2 separate regions of the Homo sapiens genome follow, and region 1 is linked to region 2. Evidence: promoter capture Hi-C in 16 types of primary human blood cells and fetal thymus (Javierre and others, 2016). All regions are on one chromosome and are shown on one strand. The core of a region is centred on a gene start or on the middle of the fragment in contact, and the rest is flanking DNA. Distances in the headings are between cores, read along the strand shown.

Region 1 (5,707 bases), core at 2,584-5,083, 260 kb before region 2:
GTTAAAACTATGAAGACAACATGCTCCCCTTCAAAGATTTCCCTTTCTTAAGCAGGGAACAGGGTTTAAATATGTGTAAAGATAAATCCCCAGGCAAATGGTAACGAGCCCTTTTAGTATTTTGTTGGAACACCTATATTGTGAATGACAGAGAAAAGAAGAATCAGGGAAGAAAAAAAGAGCATTTATTGATCTTCTAATTATGTGCCATACGCTCTTTGCATTTTCATATCCAATGTGATTTTAATTTTCAGTGTCCCTCAAGGTACCTATTAGGATCCATTTTCTTTTTTTTCTTTTTTTTTTTTTGAGATGGAGTCTCGCTCTGTCACCCAGGCTGGAGTGCAGTGGCGCGATCTTGGCTCACTGCAACCTCTTGACTCCTGGCTTCAATCAATTTTCCTGCCTCAGCCTCCTCAGCAGCTGGGACTACAGGCACACGCCACCACATCCAGCTAATTTTTATAATTTTAGTAGAGACGGGGTTTCACCATGTGGGTCAGGCTGGTCTCAAACTTCTAGACTCAGATAATCCAACTGCCTTGGCCTCCCAAAGTGCTGGTATTACAGGCGTGAGCCACCGCGCCTGGCCAGATCCATTTTCATAGATGAGAAAATGGGCTCAGAGAAACCCATGGTTATGTGGCTAGGAAGTGACAGAGAATTAGTACCCAGCCCAACTTGAAAACCCTAGTGCTAGACCTTGTATTTTTAAAAGTTTGTGTCTTTTTAGCAAGTTTTACAAGTCTGATATTCAGTTCAGAAAAAGAACCACTACTTTATGCGCCTATAACTTCAGTCTGGCAGGCTTTGAATTCTTTAGCCAATGGACCATGCAGTGGTGGCCAAATGTCAAAAGCATGAAAAGTAAGAAAACTATGTTTGGCTTTGAAATGCTTTTTGGTACTTATAATTGAATTGGAATGTCTCCTTTCTGAGCATTCACAGTATTTCAAACAAATTAAGAAAAACACCCAAAAGAACTAACCTGAAGAATCTGGAAATCTGCCTGTCTTGCCCCAAACATCTTTTTTCTGGTCTTCCTTTTATGACAAGATTGAATAGCATTATTTGTCAAACAGACTTGTACAGAGCTGTTCTGTTTGCCCATAAAGTGTCTCAAACTTGCCTGTTTTAGGTGTAGGATGTAACTAAATACTGTTCTTTAAAAGGCCTCTCCTGGTTATTAAGCCAGGTAAGAGAAGTAGAATCTCGAATCACCTAATTGAAATGGTGACACAGGTTGTCCTTTCTCAGCCGTTGGGTTTCCTTTCATCTCTGAAGGCCTGTAGGTACCATGAGGAAAACATTTAATTCAGAGGGTGAACCCAACAGTAGGAAGCTGAAAGCAGAAGTGTTTATCTCCCTCTGCATTCAGACCAGGCTCCTTAGTGCACTCATCAGACTCATTGCTGCCCCTGCTGTCTGCTGTTGAGCCTTCACCACCACTCATTCAAATCCCCACAGCCTACAGATTCCTACAAGTCATGTCCTTTCTAGTGAACCCTTTTTAAAGGGTTTTATGTCACACACAGTGCCTAGTCCAGAGCTTGTTGCCTTCACTTTAACAAGGCAAAAAAAAAAAAAATGAAGTATTTGTCCTGGAAACCTAAGCTTTCAGTAAGAGTAAAACTGTCCTGAAACAAAACTGTTTACATCTGTTATCTGGAAGCATCACCTATTTGGTGAGATTCTACTCAGAATTCAGGTGTTAGTTTTAATGCCTAGAGCAGTATGTCACATTAATTGAAGAATTTAACCATATCTATCATTTGTAATATATTTCATTCTCTCATATAAACTCTTAGGATTTTTCTTTTAATTTCAGCAAGATCCATATATAGCATCTATGGAACACCATACTGATTGGGTAAACGACATTGTACTCTGTTGTAATGGGAAAACATGTAAGTATTTCTTTGGATTATTATTGGGCTTCTGATATATTTTTTGTTTTTTATATAAGCTTTTTTATTGAAACATACATACAGAAAAGTACACACACTTCGAGATTGCAGTTCAACACAATTTTAGAAAGTGAATACCCAAATCAAGAAACAATATTACTAGAAGCCCTCTTGTGCCACCCTTTGCCACCCTTTCAGTTATTCCCTCTTGCCCCAAGGTAACTGCTCTTCTGTCTTCTGAACACCAAAGGGTAGTTTTGCCTTCATTTGAACTGTATATAGACTCGTACTATATGTATTCTTCTTTTAGCCTTATTAATACCTCTTTTTGTTCTAATTTTGGTGAGATCCATTCCTTGGTTTTGCAGTCCGAGTTACAGGAATTTTTCTCAATCACATTAGTTGAGCCTTCAACTGGAACATTAAAAATGTTTGCACTGCTTGTTTTAAAAATATATTTTTTTCTTTGAACATGTGTCTTGAGATTTTAAAAAATTGAGGCAATATACAATAGGTTCTAGAAAGAGCTTTTAGGTATGTTTGTGTGTGTAAGAGAGAGAATATGTTAGTTTGAAATAATGTTACATTGTTGTAAGATAAGTTTTCAAAGTTTTAAGTCATACTACTAAGGAGTTTGTTAATTCTTTGCTTCTTCTAGTAATATCTGCTTCTTCTGACACGACAGTAAAAGTATGGAATGCACACAAGGGATTTTGCATGTCAACATTAAGGACACATAAGGTAAAACAATACAGTTCTCAGTGTCTTTAGTGTAATATTGGGATCTCAGTACTTTGTGTGGCTCATTTTATTACTGATCTACAGAATAGATCATAGTATGTCTGTTCTATTACAGGATTACGTAAAGGCCTTAGCATATGCCAAGGATAAAGAACTAGTAGCATCAGCTGGGTTGGACAGACAAATATTCCTTTGGGATGTGAATACTCTAACAGCATTGACTGCCTCAAATAACACTGTCACAAGTAAGGTGTTTAAAAGAAACTTCTTTGAAAGTGATCCAAGTTAACATAAATAAAGAATGGTTTATAAAACATTTTTGATAGGTTTGCATCGAGAGAGTGTTTCATATTTTGAGAGTGCTTCTACCTACAGCGTTCTGGCCCCCAAGAGTATGATTGAACAACAAAGAGCTAGTTCCTCACTGCAGTCTAAAAATGGTAACTTCTCCAGGTATAACCTGGTTATTTTTTGTACGTGTGCATGTCTTAGCTCCCTAGCTAAAATGTAAGTCCCTGCAGGGTAGAGGAGACTGTCTTACTACTTCGTATCTCCCACAGCATTCCCTGGTCCAAATCCATACACTCAGCAGGTATTATTGAAGGAGGTGGCGATTTTCTGACAAAGTAGGCGGTTTTCTGACTTTTTAAAGTGTTAAGAGCTTTTGAGTTAATAGCCAAGATGAAAAATACCCAGGAGAAAGAAAGAAAAGGTTTCCAGTGCCAGTTTATCAAATTTTCTGCCTTTTAGAGCAGCCCTGAGGAATCAAGCCAATTCCAGAAGAGCCAGAACGGTAGAGTGCTTCTAGAGGCAATCCAGAGATGTTCACAGCATGGATGATTCATCAGCTAAGAGATCTCAGACTACCAAGTCAGGCTCATACAAGTCTAGATTTGAAATTGAGCTTCATGCTTGGCCCAACCTAGTAGAGTCCTCTAGGCCAGGTTTCAGAAGGGACTGTTAGGAGCACATTTTTGGCTAGGCCTGACCTGGAAAGTCTACATTGAAGACATGGGCCTGCATTCTCTGGATCCCTACATTATAGGTCCATTTTATAACGACTCTGTGGAGTGTTCACATTGACATAGACAATACAGTTTTACTAATATAGCCTAGTATGTGCCAAGAAGGGTAAGTTGGGAGACTTGTGTTTATAATCTCTTGATTGTTGTTTTGCCTTGTTTTCCAGGAAATATGTGAAGGTCTCAACATTCTTTTTCCCTTGTTCTTGATTTTTCACCTGTACATTATCTCTGATTCATTAGCTGGTCCCTGTTGGGGCTGTCATGGTACATCATTAGGTTTTAAGTCTGGATGTAAGGCCTGCCTCAAAGAGACACTAATGGGAGGGAACAAAGCAAAAAAAAAAAAGCAGGTTGTCACAAGGTCAGGGCCCAGGCTTAGTGGATACAGATTCTGCTACATCTTGCTTAGAGTTGTTTAGAGAGGATATCACACTTTTTTTTAATACATAATAATAAAAATAATACTAATAATGGCTAACCTGTATTGAGTACTTGCTACAAGTAGACATTTTTCTAAACAGTACATGTAGTAACTCATTTACTCAACTTTTTAATATGTTTGTAAAATTGGGTTCATACTATATAGACAGTTTCATATACATCTTTTTTACTTCAGTGATACTGAGAGTATGAACATGATTTTTGCTATAGTCTGAATTCCTTCCTGAAAGGTTGTACCTATTTATCTTCACATAAGTAATATATGAGAGTTCCATTGTACTGTTTTCTTTTTACAATCAAGTATTACCTTGTTTTTTGTCTTGGTGTATGAAACAGTGTTTTTGGTTTGATTTGTGTTTGAAAAATACTGAAATTGAACATTTTTTCATATTTATGGCACATGAATAGCTTTAAACATATCATTTAAGCGGATAGCTTTTCAATGGCACTGCAGTTTATCAGATATTGAGCATTTGTATATATTCAAATCCAGAAAATATGTAAATTTTGATAATAATACTGTTTAGATTTATCTCCATTATAGGTAGATTTCTTTTCCGTAGAGGACTTATAAAGATAAGATTTTCTAAATTGAATAAACTTGCAGTTTTTGCTGACTAGTTACTAAACAGCTGATGATCTTGTTAACATTTAGCTCCGTTTATCCTCAATAGCTTCTTCTTTAAGTGGAAACAAAGATTCCATTTATAGCCTGGCCATGAATCAACTGGGAACAATCATTGTATCAGGGTCCACTGAAAAGGTAAGGAGGAGCTTATTTCTTTATTTAAAAAAAAAAATTATTTTTCACATACCTTGTCTCCTATTTTTTAAGCAGGTATTTTACGATTAGCTTCTTTATATTTATTTATTTAGAGACTGGGTCTCACTCTGTCACCCAGGTTGGGGTGCAGTGGCATCATGATCCTGGCTCACTGCAGCCTTGACTGCTGAGGCTGTAGCGATCCTTCCACCTCAATCTCCTGAGTAGCTGGGACCCCAGGCACACACCATCACGTGCATCAGGCCACTCCTTGTCCCATCTGGCTAATTTTTGTATATTTTTAATAGAGACAGGGTTTCGCCATGTTGTCCCTCCAACTCCTTAGTGCAAGCAATTCACCTGCCTTGGCCTCCCAGAGTGCTGAGATTACAGGCATGAGAGCCACTGTGCCCCAATCGGGGGAGCTTAAAGGGTGGTTTGAACATTAGAAAATAAAGAAACCAAAATAATTTAATCTGTGTAATTATTAAATATATGGACAGTGGTTTTGCCTAGTGGGTGCTAAACAAAAGGTTTTATTTGAATAAGTAAGAGTATAACTATAACTGTTGTGTGTATAGTGACAAGATAAAGAGGCTGTGCATTTTTGATGTTTGAAAGGCCTAATTCCCTGAGGTTGGGAGGCTTAGACAGTGTCCATTGGCAGAAGTGGTATTGCCTTCTCAGAATATAATGGTTATCATTTGACTTATGAGAGTTGTCTGTTATTTAAATTTGATACTGATATATTTAGTTTGTGTAATACTCTATTAAAATTCACAGGTGTTACGGGTATGGGATCCAAGAACATGTGCAAAACTAATGAAGCT
Region 2 (5,999 bases), core at 2,461-4,960:
ACTAAAAATACCAAAAATTAGCCAGGTGTAGTGGCGGGCGCCTATAATCCCAGCTACTAGGGAGGCTGAGACAGGAGAATCACTTGAACCCAGGAGGCAGAGGTTGCAGTGAGCTAAGATTGCACCATTGTACTCCAGCCTGGGCAACAAGAGCAAAACTCCGTCTCAAACAAAACAAAACAAACCACTAAGAGATCTAATCAATTATTCTGGCACACAAGGTAATATGAATTTCCTGAAAATGCAACTAAAAATACGTTATTAACCACATTTCTCCATATTCAACCCTTCAAATCAAAATTATGATGATACCTTTTTTTGTATTCTGACAATTGTCATGATTACTCTTATGAAGGAAATAAATAGTAGTAAAAAAGAAAATCTGTTTCTTGTTACTCTTTTTTGTAATCCATATGGGAAATTAAATTATATAGACAGCAAAACTGGCTTTACTATTAATAACACACGAGCTTTTCTTAAACTCTGGCTTTGTCTAACACTTTTCGTTAAGCAAATGCATTTTTACCCTACAAATCACTGAGGGACTGACATATAGTTGAAAACTATAGAAAATACAGAAAGACTTCCTCTAGTCTTATCCACAACTCTTCATAATGTTATTGCACGAGAATTTTGAATGTGGTGCAGTAAGAAAAGCACCCTCAGCTGTGCCTCGGAAGACCTGAGTTCTGGCTCTGGCTCTACCACCAAATTACTGTGTGATTTTGGGTGAGCCACTTTGCCTCTCTGGACTTAAATATTACTACTTTGAAAGAAAGAGAGGGAGAGAGACATCAGCTGTATGACCTGAGGCCATTTTCTGCCCTAATACTCTATGACAAATATCTGTGATAGTAGTAATTTCTACATTTACACTTAGGGTTTATTTAAATACAGTTTTTTCTTTCTCTTTATTTTGGAGGAAAGGAGGTCAAATATGCTGCTAGTCTCTTTTTCCCTCTGAAGTGAAATACAGTCTTTTGAACCTTTGGAGGGACCCAGTAGAATTGAATTTAGATGGGATGTCCCCAATGGATCTGATCCAGCATTTTCAGAACCCATTGAATGTGCAGCAGAAGGTAGACTTGGAGAGGCCATTGGCTCTGGAGGGGTCACACTACTTTGGTTTTGTAGTTTGGTTTCTGCTGCCTTCCCATAGAATGCCTGAATCCCTGATGTAGGCCCAAAGGTGAGGAACCAAGGCTTGTCAGTTAACTATGTCACAGTTTGTCTGTCTTCCGAGTCAGGATGTTGTGGGTTGAATAATGGTCAACCAAAGAGATGAAGTCTTAATTCCTAGAACTTGTAAATGTTACTTTACTTGGGAGAAGAGCTTCTGCAGATGTGATTAAGTCAAGGATTTTGAGATGGGGAGATTATCATGGATTACCTGGACGGATCCTAAATCCAATCATGAGTGTTCTCATAAATCAGAGGTGGGTGAGATCTGATGCAGACACACAGTGGAGAAGGAGATGTGAAGATGGTGGAGATTAAAGTGATGTGGCCACAAGCCCCAGGTTTGCTGGGGCAGCCACCAAGAGCCAGAAGTGGCAAGGAACAATTCGCCCTTCAAGCACCCAGAAGGAGGCAGCCCTGCTGGATTATAGCCATCTGGCCTCCAGAACTGGGGGAGAATACACGTCTGCTGCTCTAAGCCACTAAGTTGGTGGTAATTTGTTACAGCAGCCACAGGAAACAAATACACAGGTGACAGCAGGCAAGTGTCCAGTCCTGCAGGGGCCCACACCAGCCCTCAGATCTGGCTCAGGAAACACAAAAAGAGGAGCATCCTTCCATTCTGGCTGTTCAGTCCTTTCCTCCAACTCTTCACCAGACTCCACATCTCCACCTTGCCTCATTCTCTCTGTTCAACTATTTATTAAGAAGTTGCTGTGCACTAAGCACTGTGCCAAGTATGGAGGAGCAGCTGATAAAAGAATCCTCAGGAACTGAAGATAGAGACTGTTTGGGGTTTAGATCAGCTTGCACTAGAAACTGGGCTTGGGGGGAATTCCACCTTAGTCCCTCAGGCCTTGCTTAACTGGGCTTTGGAGGGGAAGGTGGCTTCCCCCACACCTGCCCTCACTGATGAGGCGGTCCCATAGTTCCCACCATCATGACATGGACTAGTAATACCTGAGGGCCCTGAGTTCTCCATCGGCTCACCATTGATCTTTGCTTATCACATACAAAACTCTCATAAAGGAACTGGGTTTTCCCCAAACTGCGTCAAAACATGAATGATGGTGAGGGGAATTTGCCGAGGTATGAATTCAGGTACCAGCAGATATTTCCTTTTATTTTTTCTTTAGAGACAGGTCAGTGGCTCAATCATAGCTCACCTCAAACTGCTGGACTCAAGTGATCCTCCCACTTTAGCTTCCCAAGTAGCTGGGACTACAAGTGCATGCCACCATGCCTGGCTAATTTTATTTAAAAAATTTGTACAGATGATGCATTAGTCCGTTGTCACACTGCTATAAAGAAAGACCAAGATTGGATAATTTATAAAGGAAAGAGGTTAAATTGACTCACAGTTCTGCATTGCTGGGGAGGCCTCAAGAAACTTATAATCATGGTGGAAGGCAAAGGAGAAGCAGGCACATTTTTCACAGGTCGGCAGGATGGAGTGAGTGCAAGCAGGGAAAATGCCAGGTGTTTATAAAACCATCAGATCAGATCTCTTGAGACTCACTCACTATCATGAGAACAGCATGGGGGAAACTGCCCCCATGATCCAATTAACTCCACCTGGTCCCGCCCTTGACACATGGGGATTATGAGGATTATAATTCAAGATGAGATTTGGGTAGGGACACAGAGCCAAACCGTATGAGATGGGGTCTTGCTATGTTGACCAGTCTGGTCTTGAACTCCTAGGCTCAAGCAATCCTCCTGCCTCAGCCTCCCAAAATGCTGGAATTACAGATGTGAGCCACCGTACCTGGCATCCAGCAGATATTTCTACTGCATTTCTCCAGGAATGAGTGGGTTGGAGATGAGGAGATTCTGGAACTTCTGTCATTTCCTCCCAACAATTCTGGGACTCATGTTCACTCTCCTGGGATAGGGGAAACTGACTTAAAGTGATTTTCAAATGGCATTCCTGTTGAAAGAGTTAATATATGTACATGCATACAACATACACACACATTTGTGTATGCTACATACCATGGAGGAAAGCCAGTCCTGGTATAAATTGTATAACTTCAAAATAATAATGGAATTATGATTTCATTTTAATACTGATTTCAATTAAAAATTTTAATAGACTATTTTTTAGAGGTTTTAAGTTTACAGAAAATCTAGGTAGACAACACAGAAAATTCCCATTAACCCCTGTATTAGTCTGCTAGGACTTCCATAACAAAATACTACAGGCTGAGTAGCTTAAACAACAGAAATTTGTTTTCCCACAGTTCTGGAGGCTAGAAGACCAAGGTGCCCACAAGTCTGGTTTCTGGTGATGCCTATTTACCTTACTTGCAGATGGCTGCCTTCTCCCTGTGTCCTCACATGGCCTTTCCTCTGAGCACCTGGAGGCAAGAGAGTGAGCTCTGGTGTGTATTCCTCTACCTAGGAGACACCAGTCCTATTGAATTAGGGCCTCAGCCTTACGATCTCATTTAACCCTCATTGCCTCCCTTTAGGTGACTAGGTGTGAGGGTGGAGCCCTCAAGAGACTGCCTTCTCTCCATCTGCTGTTTGTAGTGGGAGGATACCTCCAGAGAGGCTGCTGCTCATTGAGCTGCACTCACATGAGGATACAGACTTTGTGAAGAAGGAATTGGCAACACTGAAACCTCCAGAACAAAGGCTGTCACTAAGGTATGTGCTACAAGCATCCTTGGGGAAGAAGGGCATGAGTAGGCAGGGGCATTTTTATATCTTTAGAGGATAGGCAAAGGGAAGACCAAAATTTCAGAGGTCTAGCACAAGAAGTAAAATTTTTTTTTAAATCTTTGCATTTCCTCAGAGCCCACAAACATGCATGTGTCTTAGTGGCTGCCCATGCTCTGGCTGAGGAGAGCAAACCGTGCCATATTCTCTGCAGGCCTTTAGGAGAGAGTGAAAACTCCTACAAGAGTGGGAAGGTAGATAAGAGAAGATCCTTTATAATACCAGGCATCTGGGAAGATCTGTCCTTGTGCTGGGTACAGGGCTTCTATCAGGTAACTGAAGGACACCTGGGTGCTGTTCTTAAGGAAAGAAGCCAGCGAGCAAACTTTCATATGACTAAAGAAGTTGCTGGTGGGTGCCTGTAGTCCCAGCTACTCAAGAGCCTGGGGCAGAAGGATTGCTTGCGCCCAGAAGTCAGGGCTTTGTGTGAGATCACACCTGCGTATAACTACTGTACTCCAGCTTGGGCAACATAGTGAGACCCTGTCTCTAAAAAAATAAATAAATTGCTTGCTTGCTTGCTTGTGCTTTCAAATCATAGAAAAGTAGCAGAGTGGAGAGGGGTGTCTGAATGTAAAGCAAACAAATGCCTTGGAAAAATATGTCTGGATTGAAATTGCATTGAATGTATATATCAATTTGAGAAGAATTGTCAAGTTTTATAATTTTTATGTAACTGAATTGCATTTTTATTAGTTTTATTCCTAGTAATGCTAGTAATTTTCATTGCTAGTATAATTGGGATCATTTTTCTATTGCATTTATAAAGTTATTTTTTTTCTGGTGCTTAGGAAAGCAATTAAAAGAATAAACTGATGAATATCATGCAGATATATCTCTAAAACAATAAGCAAAATACAAAGGGAAAAACAATATATCATTTATGTAAGTTAAAACAATATATCATTTATGTAAGTTAAAACACACAAAAATATATATTGTTTATGGATATATATAAATATGTAAAAGTACAGGGGGAAATTGTTTGGAATGATACATACCAAATTGGTTTTAGTTGTTGTTTCTGTTATGGGGATAAGTTGTGTAGTTAAAGGGAACATTAGCTTCATCTCTATTGCATCAGAAATAAAAAAAGAAAGAGGGATGGAAGGAAGAGAGGGAATGAGGGAGGGAGAAAAGAAGGGAGAAAAAAAGAAGGAAGGAAGGAAAAAAAAATAACCCAAAGCATTGTGAGAATATGTTAGCAGCTGCTAATTCTAGGTGATGGAACTATGGGTATTTACATTTTCTTTGTAAGTTTTGGCTTTTCTCATCTCAGCTGACTCCCTTTGGTTTACATAACAAAATACAATAGACTGAGTGGCTTAAACAACAGAAAGTGTTGTTTAACATACTTCTAAAGGCTGGAAGTCCAAGACCAAGCTGCCAATGCAGTTGATTTCTGGTGAGGCTTCTCTACCTGGCTTGCTGATTTCAGCCTTCTTGCTGTGTCCTCACATGGTCTTTACTCCATGCACAAGGGGAGCAAAATTTCTTGTGTCTCTTTCTCTTCTGTTAAGGACACTAGTTCTATCAGATTAGGGCCCTGCCTTTTTTGGTTTTGTTTCTGTTTTCTTTTTTTTGAGACAGAGTCTCACTCTGTCACCCAGGCTGGAGTACAGTGGCTTGATCTCGAGTCATTGCAACCCCTGCTTCCTGGGTTCAAGAAATTGTCGTGCCTCAGCCTCCCGAGGTAGCTTGGATTACAGGCATGTGGCACCATGCCTGGCTAATTTTTGTAATTTTAGTAGAGACGGGGTTTTGCACTGTTGGCCAGGCTTGTCTCGAACTCCTGGCCTCAAGCAATCCGCCTACCTTGGCCTCCCAAAGTGCTGGGATTACAGGTGTGAGTCACTGTGAGAGCCAGGGCCCTGCCTTTATAACCTCATTTAACCTTTTTTTTTTTTTTTTAATTTTAATTTTTTTTTTTTTTTTTGAGACAGAATCTCACTCTGTCGCCCAGGATGGAGTGCAGTGGTGTGATCTCGGCTCACAGCAACCTCCACCTCTTCGGTTCAAGTGATTCTTCTGCCTCAGCCTCCTGAGTAGCTAGGATTACAGGCATGCACCCGCCATGCCCGGCTAATTTTTGTATT

The links. The method cuts DNA at HindIII sites, captures the fragments that hold promoters and counts their contacts. A CHiCAGO score of 5 or more calls a contact.
Region 1: a contact is called between a fragment that was not itself captured here and the fragment with the promoter of CCR8 in region 2, in 1 of 17 cell types (neutrophils). The highest score is 5.2, in neutrophils.

What each region holds. Positions count from the first base shown.
Region 1 is chr3:39,063,983-39,069,689 of GRCh38, forward strand. WDR48 (WD repeat domain 48) reads left to right here. Exons shown (of 19, transcript NM_020839.4): 3 at 1,829-1,907; 4 at 2,566-2,648; 5 at 2,764-2,893; 6 at 4,789-4,877; 7 at 5,661-5,707. Among named protein-coding and RNA genes, the nearest start is that of WDR48, 15 kb to the left of the region's middle. The HindIII fragment of the contact is 3,739 bases long and covers 1,965-5,703 here.
Region 2 is chr3:39,325,999-39,331,997 of GRCh38, forward strand. CCR8 (C-C motif chemokine receptor 8) reads left to right here and starts at 3,711. Exons shown (of 2, transcript NM_005201.4): 1 at 3,711-3,831. RefSeq lists enhancers at 1,853-1,942, 2,293-2,382. The HindIII fragment of the contact is 11,619 bases long and covers 1-5,999 here.